Linked DNA regions of Homo sapiens: region 2 is linked to region 1. The links are contacts of gene promoters, found by promoter capture Hi-C in human tissues and cell types (Jung and others, 2019). All regions are on one chromosome and are shown on one strand. Each heading gives the region's core, a stretch centred on a gene start or on the middle of the fragment in contact. The rest is flanking DNA. Distances are from core to core; before and after follow the strand shown. Region 1 holds the start of LRRC10B (leucine rich repeat containing 10B). Region 2 overlaps DAGLA (diacylglycerol lipase alpha).

Region 1 (4,320 bases), core at 21-2,520:
TGCCTGTGCCCGGCAACTCGCCAAAAGTAGCCGTTCCATTGACCTAAGTAGGGACCCACCAGTCCCGCAGGCCTAACCAGCCAAAGCTTCCTAGAGCCCCTCCTCTCAGAGTGGCTGAAGCCCATCAGCCAGAACATAGGCTCAGGTGCCCAGTCCTGGAGCGGCTTCCAGGGCGCGGAAGCTGCCCCCGGGGGCGCCCAGAGCCCGGGAACCAGCGCCGCCTATGAGCAGGTCTTCCTCCTCCTCATCCTCAAAGGCCCGCGCTGGGCGCCGGGGCGGAGGCCGGGGCGTGGGCTCGTCGCGCTCCGCCATGCGCTCGACGGCGCCCTCGCCCACGAGGAACACGGTGTCCGCGACGCGCGGGGGCCCGGTGACGGGGTTGTGGTCGTAGGAGAAGACGCGCAGCGCGCGCAGCGGGTGCAGGTCGGGGAAGCCGCCCAGGCGGTTGCGGTCGAGGTCGAGGATGTGCAGGCGGCCCATGCGCAGCAGCGCGGGCGGGAACTCCTCGAAGCGGTTGCCGTAGAGCCAGAGGCCGCGCAAGCCCGTCATGCGCGGCAGCTCGGCCGGCAGCGCGCGCAGCCGGTTGTCGCCCATCTGGAGCGACTGCAGCGCCACCAGGCGCAGCAGCGGCCGCGGGAAGCGCCGCAAGAAGTTGCCCTCGATCCAGAGGCAGCGCAGGCTCTGCAACTGCGCGAAGTCGGCGGGCAGCGCCAGCAGCCGGTTGCCGCCCAGATAGAGGCGCGTGAGGCGCGGCAGGCGGCACAGGCCGTCAGGCAGTCGCTCGAGCTTGTTGAAGTCCAGCGCCAGGATGCGCAGCTCGCGCAGCTCCTCGATCTCCTCCGGCAGCTCGCGCAGCCCCGTGCCGCTCACATACAGCTTCTGCAGGCGGCTCAGCGCGCACACTGCGCTGGGCAGCCGCCGCAACCGCCGCCCGCTCAGCTCCAGCTGCTGGTCGCCGCTGCGCAGCTGCTCCTCTGCGTCCGACGGCAGCTCATCCGGCGTGGACTCGGCGATGCCCATGGTCACGGGCCCCGGCCGGGGCCGCCGCCACTGCCACCGCCAGGCATCGCCCCGCCCCGGCCGCCCCCCAGCCGCCCCGACGGTGCCGGAGCCGCGCCGGCCCCCGGGCCCCCCGCCCCGGCCTTCCCCCGCGCCGGGAGGGGGGCCGTGCGGGGCCGGGAGGAGGCACCCACTTGGGGCACCGCCGCCGCGCGCCGCGCTCCACCGCCCGCCCTCGGGCCTCCCCCGTTGCCTCCGCCGGAGGCCGACTGGCTAGGGTTCGCGCTGACTCGCAGCTTAGCGACCCGTCGCCCTGGCAACCCCGACGCGCGTGCGGCTGCCAATGAGGCGGAGGGAGGGCGGGGCGGGGCGGGGCCAAGGCGCCACCCTAGTGGGGTCCCAGCGCCGGAGCCCGCCCCCTACCTGCCCATCCAGCCCACCGCGGAGCAAGCACAAGCCGAGAGATTCCCCGCCCCGGCCAAGCCTGGCACTGAGACCCGACGCCCGACGCTGTTTGGTGTGCGGTTGTGTGCGCCCCAGAGCCGCGGGTCCAAGAAGGCGAAGGAAACGCTGGCGGTGGATCAAAGACTCTGGACTAGAGGCTCACAAGGAGGGGCTGAGGGGCGCGGTCACTGCGAGCCATTCACGTCCAGCGGCGTGCGGCCGGCCTACCTGCTGGGATCACTTCAGTGTAGTAACTCGAAACAGTGTTACTGTCCGGCCCTTTTCACATCTGCTGGTTTTACCGGGCCCCAGGGCTTGGCTCCGCCCCGCCTAATTGCCCTACAGCTTCCTCATTGCTACACTCACACCCCTCTCTCCTGCCAGGATCCCTCCACCGACGCTCAAAGTCTGTGTGTGGCTGCGGTGGACAGAGGACTGGGACACGTGAACGCCTTTGAGCCACCAATCATGGCCACTCTCATTCCATGACTCTTCTTCCTTCGCCTGCTACCACCAGCAGCAGTTCCCCCCTGCCTTCTCCCCCCACCTCCCATCCGGAGCCCTCCTGCGGGAGCTCCTGGCAGAAAAGCACTGGCTGTCACTGGCTTCGAGCCCACGTGTGCCCAGCACTATGCTGAAAGCATTGCGTTGAGTCCTTGGCACAGCCTATGAGGTAGACACCCTCATCACCCCGATTTTAAAGATGGAGAAACTGAGGGTCAAAGAGACATGACTTGAGCTGGGTCAGTCTGAGCTGAGTGAAGTGCCCAAGGTCACCCAGCTGATGAGCAGCTGGATTCGAAGCCAGGTAGTGTGACTCCAGAGCCTGTGTTCCTAACCATAAACCATACCGATAGATGGAAACAAGGTTCACTCCACCTCCAGCAATGAATTTTCTCACAACAGAGCCTCTGATTCTCTGGACAAAGCTACAAAGACAGCACTATAATCCCACATGAAAGATGAGAGAAGTGGCCTCGCGGGGATTAGGCACCCTGCTTACGGTCACACAATGCATAGAGGTTGCAGCCCGGGAGCCAAATTTTCGGGCTCCAAGCCTCCTGCCTCCTGCCTTCTCTTGAACCCGGCTGGTGTGACCCATGTAACTGGCTGAGTGGACTGACTTCAGGAGAGCACGCTGCCCTTTGGCCCACCCCCATTGCCATCCCCACTGCAGGGGAAGGGGGATGGAAGACAGCCCAAGGGCAGAGAGCAGTTGCCAATGCAACGGGAGGAAGGGAACCATCCCCACTGGAAAGTAAGCTGCCCAGCCAGGGAGGTTTGGGCATCTCCTTCCCTGCTGGCACAGGCTCTAGAGCATACAGTAGACATTCCATGCAAATTTTTATTTATTTATTTATTTATTTATTTATTTATTTATTTATTTAGAGACAGAGTTTTGCTCTTGTTGCATAGGTTGGAGTGCAATGGCGTGATCTTGGCTCACTGCAACCTCCGCCTCGCCTCCTGGGTTCAAGCGATTCTCTTGCCTCAGCCTCCCAAGTAGCTGAGATTACAGGTGCCCACCACCACGCCCAGCTAATTTTTGTATTTTAGAAGAGACAGGGGTTCACCATGTTGGTCAGGCTGGTCTCGAACTCCTGATCTCAGGTGATCCACCTGCCTCAGCCTCCCAAAGTGCTGGAATTATAGGCATGAGCCACTGCGCCTTGCTGAAAAAAACTTAACAAAAAAAGTGGAGGCAAACATTGCATACAGTGAAATGCATAGATCGTAAGTGTCTTCTTGGATGCGTTTTGACAAATGTACACACCCCTGTCCCATTTCCATCAACCCAAGAGTTCTCTCAAGCCTCTTGCGGTCAATCCCCACCTCACAGAGGCAACTATGATCCTGACCTCTATCCTTATGGATCAGTTTTCCCTGTTCTTGAATTTCACACAAATGAAATTATTCAGCACATGCTTTTTTTCAGATAATATATATTTGTTGGATACATGAATGAAAGGACAGAGCAATAGCAATTCTAATATGGCAAGAGGTGTTAGGGGGCGGACAGATGATGGGGGGACACAGAGGCAGATGTTGCTCTGAGCCACGAACCAGCCATGCACCCCCATCCTGGGAGAGACTGGCAAAACGAAAGCAGGAATCCAGGCCAAGGTAGAGGACCCAGGTGGAACCCAGACACCAGACCTAGGGTATAGGAGTCTCAGCCCCAACCGGAGGGGCTTCAGGCTCCTCCCAGATGTCACTTAAGTTCCAATCCAGCTCTCTCCCTTCTACTCATTCGGGAGGACTTCTTGGAAGAGGTAAGTCTCTCAGAGACCAGAAAGGTAGGGAATACCCAGCCAGGCTAATGGGATGAGGATGAGTCCCTCCCCCCACCCCCAAGCAGTTTGAGGGAACATTGGCTGTGGAGGAGGAGGCTCAGCAGCCCAGCCTCGCCACATGCTCAGGCTGGCACCCAGCGCCAGGCTGCCCTCTTGGGCTCCATCAGCACAGGCAGCACCACATGAGCCCACATGAGCCTCTCCACCCCGGCACCAGCCTGGCAGAGCTTCCTGGGGCCGAGAGCATGGAGGACCAGCCCTCTTCTTTCTCAGAGTCTTTTTCTTGCTCTCGGCAGATCCTGTACCTTCACCTCCCACCAGGCCCTTCTCAGTGGGTAAAGGTAAAATGTGCTGGCGTTCCAGGCCCACGCAGGCTGGCAGTGGGGCAATCATCATGATGAATCACGCTGGCACTGCAGGCACCCGGTCCTTGTTGAGGCGTAACTAATGAATTAGCTTCACCCCCAGCACGGGGCCTCTCAGCCTTTCCCCACTTCCCAGGAAGGCAGGAAACTGAGACCTGGGAGGGGGAAGCAGGGGAGGAGAGAGGACTCTGTCAGCTCCAGGCATGGGTCCCAGACCC
Region 2 (4,320 bases), core at 1,173-3,672, 200 kb before region 1:
ATACCACTCCTGTCTCTGGATGTTGTGGGAGGTGACCTAGAATCATGGGCTCTGAGGCCTCCTGGGTGCACCCCCCGCCTGTTTTAGACAGAGCCTGACGACCAGAAAATCCTCACAGGTTAGAGCCCACCCCCAACCACGAGCAGGGCCCTCGGCCAGCAGATAAAACCCCAACACTGAGGGAGATGGCTTCCAAACCTAGAGCTTCCTCCAACTTGCACCTCGACATGTTCATGGGTGGGGTGCAGACACCAGGTCCCTGGGAGCAGAGCCCTGGCCAGCCCAAGACCCGAAAGAGACATGGCACCCAGGGCCATTGGCTCAGCCTGAGACCTGCTGCCATTCATTCTCCTCCATGCCCACTGCCCTCTGGAGCCCAGCTCAAGGGTGAAGGCTCCAAAGCCATTTGATCCTGAGTCCCTTCCCCGCCCCCAACTTCTCAGTCCTACGGTTGTCCTCGATTCTTGATTCAGCCTGGTTTCCAAACTTGTCACCACCCTGGAAGCCTCCCTGGGGTGTACTCTACTTCGAAAGGGGCCCTGTTAGACTGTTCTGCAGTTGCTCAGATGAGTCCTTGACGATTTCATTCTTCCATTTGGTAGCACGCTTCTGAGTGAGCCCTTCCCTCCTCCAGAGATCCCAGACAGGCCCAGGCCTCAAACCCCAGGCTGGGCTGGCCCAGGAGCAAGGACAGGAGGTGGTCCTGGCCTCGGCAGGTGTGAAGACACCAACACCCACAGATGGCCAGGGCTTGGTTCCAGAGTCCCTGGTTTAGGGCAGGGGCAGGCTCTCAGAGTAGAAAAGGCTGGAAACAGCCCTGAGGGTGGGCCCTGGGTGGTGTGAACACAGGTGAAATCTGGTTAAAGTCAAGTTAGTGCATGCAGCCATTCTCCATCCATCCACAAATCACCAGAGTGCCTACTATGTGCCAGGGATTGGGTGGATGGTGACAAAAGCCGACATGGTGCCAGCCCTTATGGAGCCTGCAGACCAGAAGGAAAGAAACTTCAAGTGAACCTTCACATACAACAAAGAAAAATCCTCTGACACGTGCTCAGGCGGGGAGGCTGCCTATAGAACTAGGAGCTGGAGCTGTTTCTGAAGGACTAGCAGAGGGAAGCAACCACAGGAGAGAGCAGAGCGGAACAAGCACTGGAGGATACCCTCGGCAGCAGGGCCTGGATGTGAGGACAGTGGAGGCCTGGAGGATGGAGAAAAGGCCAGAGTCAGGCCAGCAGAGAGGAGGCCAAAGCAGGCAGGCTGGCAGGGCCAGGCCCTGGACTCTGAGCCTGGGAATGACAAGCCAAGGTGGGTGCGAGGGTGAAGAGAAGTGGGTGGCCCAGATGGAAATTCAGCAGACAAAATGGGGACAGACAGGGCAGGTATTAAGGATGTTTACTGCTCGCTGTAACACTGGCGCTGTCAAAGACGACCCCAGCTGTCTGGCCCGTGCAATTGGGCGGGCAGAGGGGGCACTGGATCCCAGAGGAACGCCTTGAGAACGGAGGCCTGGGGCTGCCCATCCCACCCTCAGAGCAACAGCTCCGGGAGTCAGCCCTGGGCTCTGTGAACACAGGTGAAGTCTGTGTCCTCCCCCTCCCCCCAGTCTCAGCTCAGCCCAGTCCCGAGCTCAGGCGAGCCCGGGCACGGCAGGTCAGGATGTCAGTCCAGGAGTCCCACTCAGGAGCAGTCAGTGGGCTCTGCTCCCACCGCTGAGGGTTCCCAATCATGTGCTTGAGGGGGTTTGAGGCATTTCTCCTGAACATTCAGCTCCCCACTCTTCCTGCCATCCGGGCCCGACCATGAATAGGACTACGCAGAGGAGCTCTCAGAGTTAATTCAACCTACTACAGGAGGGGAATGGAAAGAGGGTCTCTGTATGCCAGTCATCCACTCTCCCAACCACATGTTGGGGCTCAGAAAATGGTACCCCAAAGTGAACGCCTCACAAACAGCCTCAGAAGCAAAGCTTTTCTCTGAACATCTCCTGCCTTCCTGTCTCTATCCCTTACTCTCCCGACACAAACCACAGAAACTAGAATTCTCTTCCCCACCCCTCACTCTCCCCAGAGGCAAGCCATAGAAACTAGAATTCCTCTTTCCCAAGGCAGGTCACAGAAACCAGAACTCCTTTCCCCTAAAGCCACCCATAAAACCTAAAAGTATTAGCCTTCTCCTGCCTTTCTGCGTAAGAGCTGGCCATAAAGAAATCCTTTGGTCGGGCAGGGCACAGTGGCTCACGCCTGTAATCCCAGCACTTTGGGAGGCTGAGGCAGGCAGATCACCTGAGGTCAGGAGTTCGAGACCAGCCTGGCCAACATGGTGAAACCCCGTCTCTATCAAAAACATAAAAAATTAGCTGGGCATGGTGGCACGCGCCTGTAATCCCAGCTGCTTGGGAGGCTGAGGCAGGAGAATCTGTTGAACCCGGGAGGCAGAGGTGCCATGAGCCGAGATCGTGCCATTGCACTCCAGCCTGGGTGACAGAGTGAGACTCCATCTCAAAAAAAAAAAAAAAAGAAATTCTCTGACCTACTTTGTTTGATAGTAGATCATAAGACCCCCACTCAGAATCCTGCCCCATACCCTGAAGGAAGGAATGCAGCACAGAGAGGCCAAGAAGGATCTGAGAGCAGGCCTTGCTGGGTTTCCCCACTCAGTCTGCTCCCATGGGGTCTTACTCTTTGTGTCCAATCATAGCTCTTCATAGTTGCCCATTCCTCCTCAAACTTAAGCATAAAAATGGAGTTTCCCTGGATCTTTGGATCTTCATTCTGAAGGCTCCCATGTCACGTAAAACTTTGATTAAATACATTTGTTATGCTTTCCTCTTGTTAACCTGTCTTTTGTTACAGGAGTGTTGCCTATGACCCTCATGATGGGGAGAAAAGGGATCACCCCATAGCTGCACCTACAATCCATTCATCCATCCATCCATCCATCCATCCATCCATCCATCCATTCCTCCATCCTCCATCTACCCACTCACCATTTCCAGTCATTCTACACTGTTCATCACACTTAGAAAGCCCTCTCCCTCTTACGTTGGCCTGCCAGCCCTGTGGCCTGGCCTCTGCCTGCCCTCACCAGCCTCCCAGGCACCCTGGCCTTCTCTCTGTTCTTGCAACAGGCCAGGCGTGCCGAACGCCTTTGTCCTCACTCCTCCTCTAGCCTGGAGAGAACCCCAACCCCACCCCCACCCCCAGAGCTTTGCGTGGCTGGCTCCCTCCTGTCATTCAGCTCCTAGCTCAAACATCCCCTCCTGGGACCTGCCTGCCAAATCTTAGGTACCCCAAGCGCCCCCATCATAGGACTCAGTTTTCCTATCAGCACTTCTCACCATCTAAAGTTCTGGTGAATGTGTTTACCATCTGGCTCCCTCCACCAGGGTGTGGCTTCTCAGGGGAGGGGTCTCGCCTGTTTTCTTCCTTGCCAGGTTCCCTGCACTGAGTAAAGGTTTGGCAGGTTGGGGGAGCTCACCACGTCCCTGCTGCCTGAAAGAGAAACCATTTCGGAGCACGGCCTGAGAAGGACAGAAACAGGAGAACGTAGGAGCCACAGCAGAGCTGCACCCAGAACCCAGGGCTCCTGACTCCCAGCCCTGGCCTCTTTCCACACCATCTGCTGGCCATGCCTGGGATCCAAAGCCCTATCCTGAACTGCCCACATATGCAACTTCACTGGCTACCAACGACCACGCTGTGGGCGAGGCAGGGAGGAAATGTGGCATCTTCATTTTACTGATGAGGCAACTGTGGCAGGAAGGGGCTGTGGGTGATTTGCCTGTGGTAATGCAGTGAGTGGTCCTGCTACTGGAGGGCTCCCTAGCATTGACAAGCCTGGCTTCCCTCTACCTCCCTATGCATCTGGGGCCGTGTGACTTGCGTCCACCTCTGTACAGCATCCTGTGGGAGGGAGGGCGCACCTCCAGGAAAGAGCACAGAAAGCTACGTTCTCAGGATGCAGCCAGGAGACTGAAGCCCTCTCCCAACCGGGGGCCCAGAGGGCACCTCAGCCATGGCCTGGCTATAAGTGAGAAGGGGAAGGACCTGGGGAAATGACTTCTCTTCTAAGAGACTCAGTGTCTTCATCTGGAGGATGAGGGGGTTGACCAGATGATCTCTAATTTCCCTAGGATCCACTTTTACCCCCATCCCCCAATGCTCAGTTTATAAGGGTCTGCAGCCTCTGGCTCAGGAATATAATCCCACAGAAGACTCGGAGCCTTAAGGTGCTATCATCTTTCTCACCCACTTTCTTCTGGGCCCCAACATTGTCCTGGAGGTAGAGAGGCCAGGAATTTGCACACCATGGCCCAGT

What was found. The method cuts DNA at HindIII sites, captures the fragments that hold promoters and counts their contacts. A contact is called where the count stands out against the background at its distance.
Region 2: a fragment that was not itself captured here is called in contact with the fragment with the promoter of LRRC10B in region 1 in 1 of the 25 tissues and cell types used here (bladder).

The regions. Positions count from the first base shown.
Region 1 is chr11:61,505,699-61,510,018 of GRCh38, reverse strand. It overlaps LRRC10B (leucine rich repeat containing 10B), which reads right to left and starts at 1,270. Exons shown (of 1, transcript NM_001145077.2): 1 at 1-1,270. The coding sequence starts at 1,020. The coding sequence ends at 142. MIR4488 (microRNA 4488) reads right to left here and starts at 1,423; the gene lies at 1,362-1,423. It overlaps LOC105369329 (a long non-coding RNA gene), which reads right to left. Exons shown (of 3, transcript NR_188527.1): 3 at 3,370-4,257. The HindIII fragment of the contact is 12,437 bases long and covers 1-4,320 here.
Region 2 is chr11:61,702,321-61,706,640 of GRCh38, reverse strand. All of the region lies in intron 1 of DAGLA (diacylglycerol lipase alpha), which reads right to left. Among named protein-coding and RNA genes, the nearest start is that of DAGLA, 24 kb to the right of the region's middle. The HindIII fragment of the contact is 5,242 bases long and covers 1-4,320 here.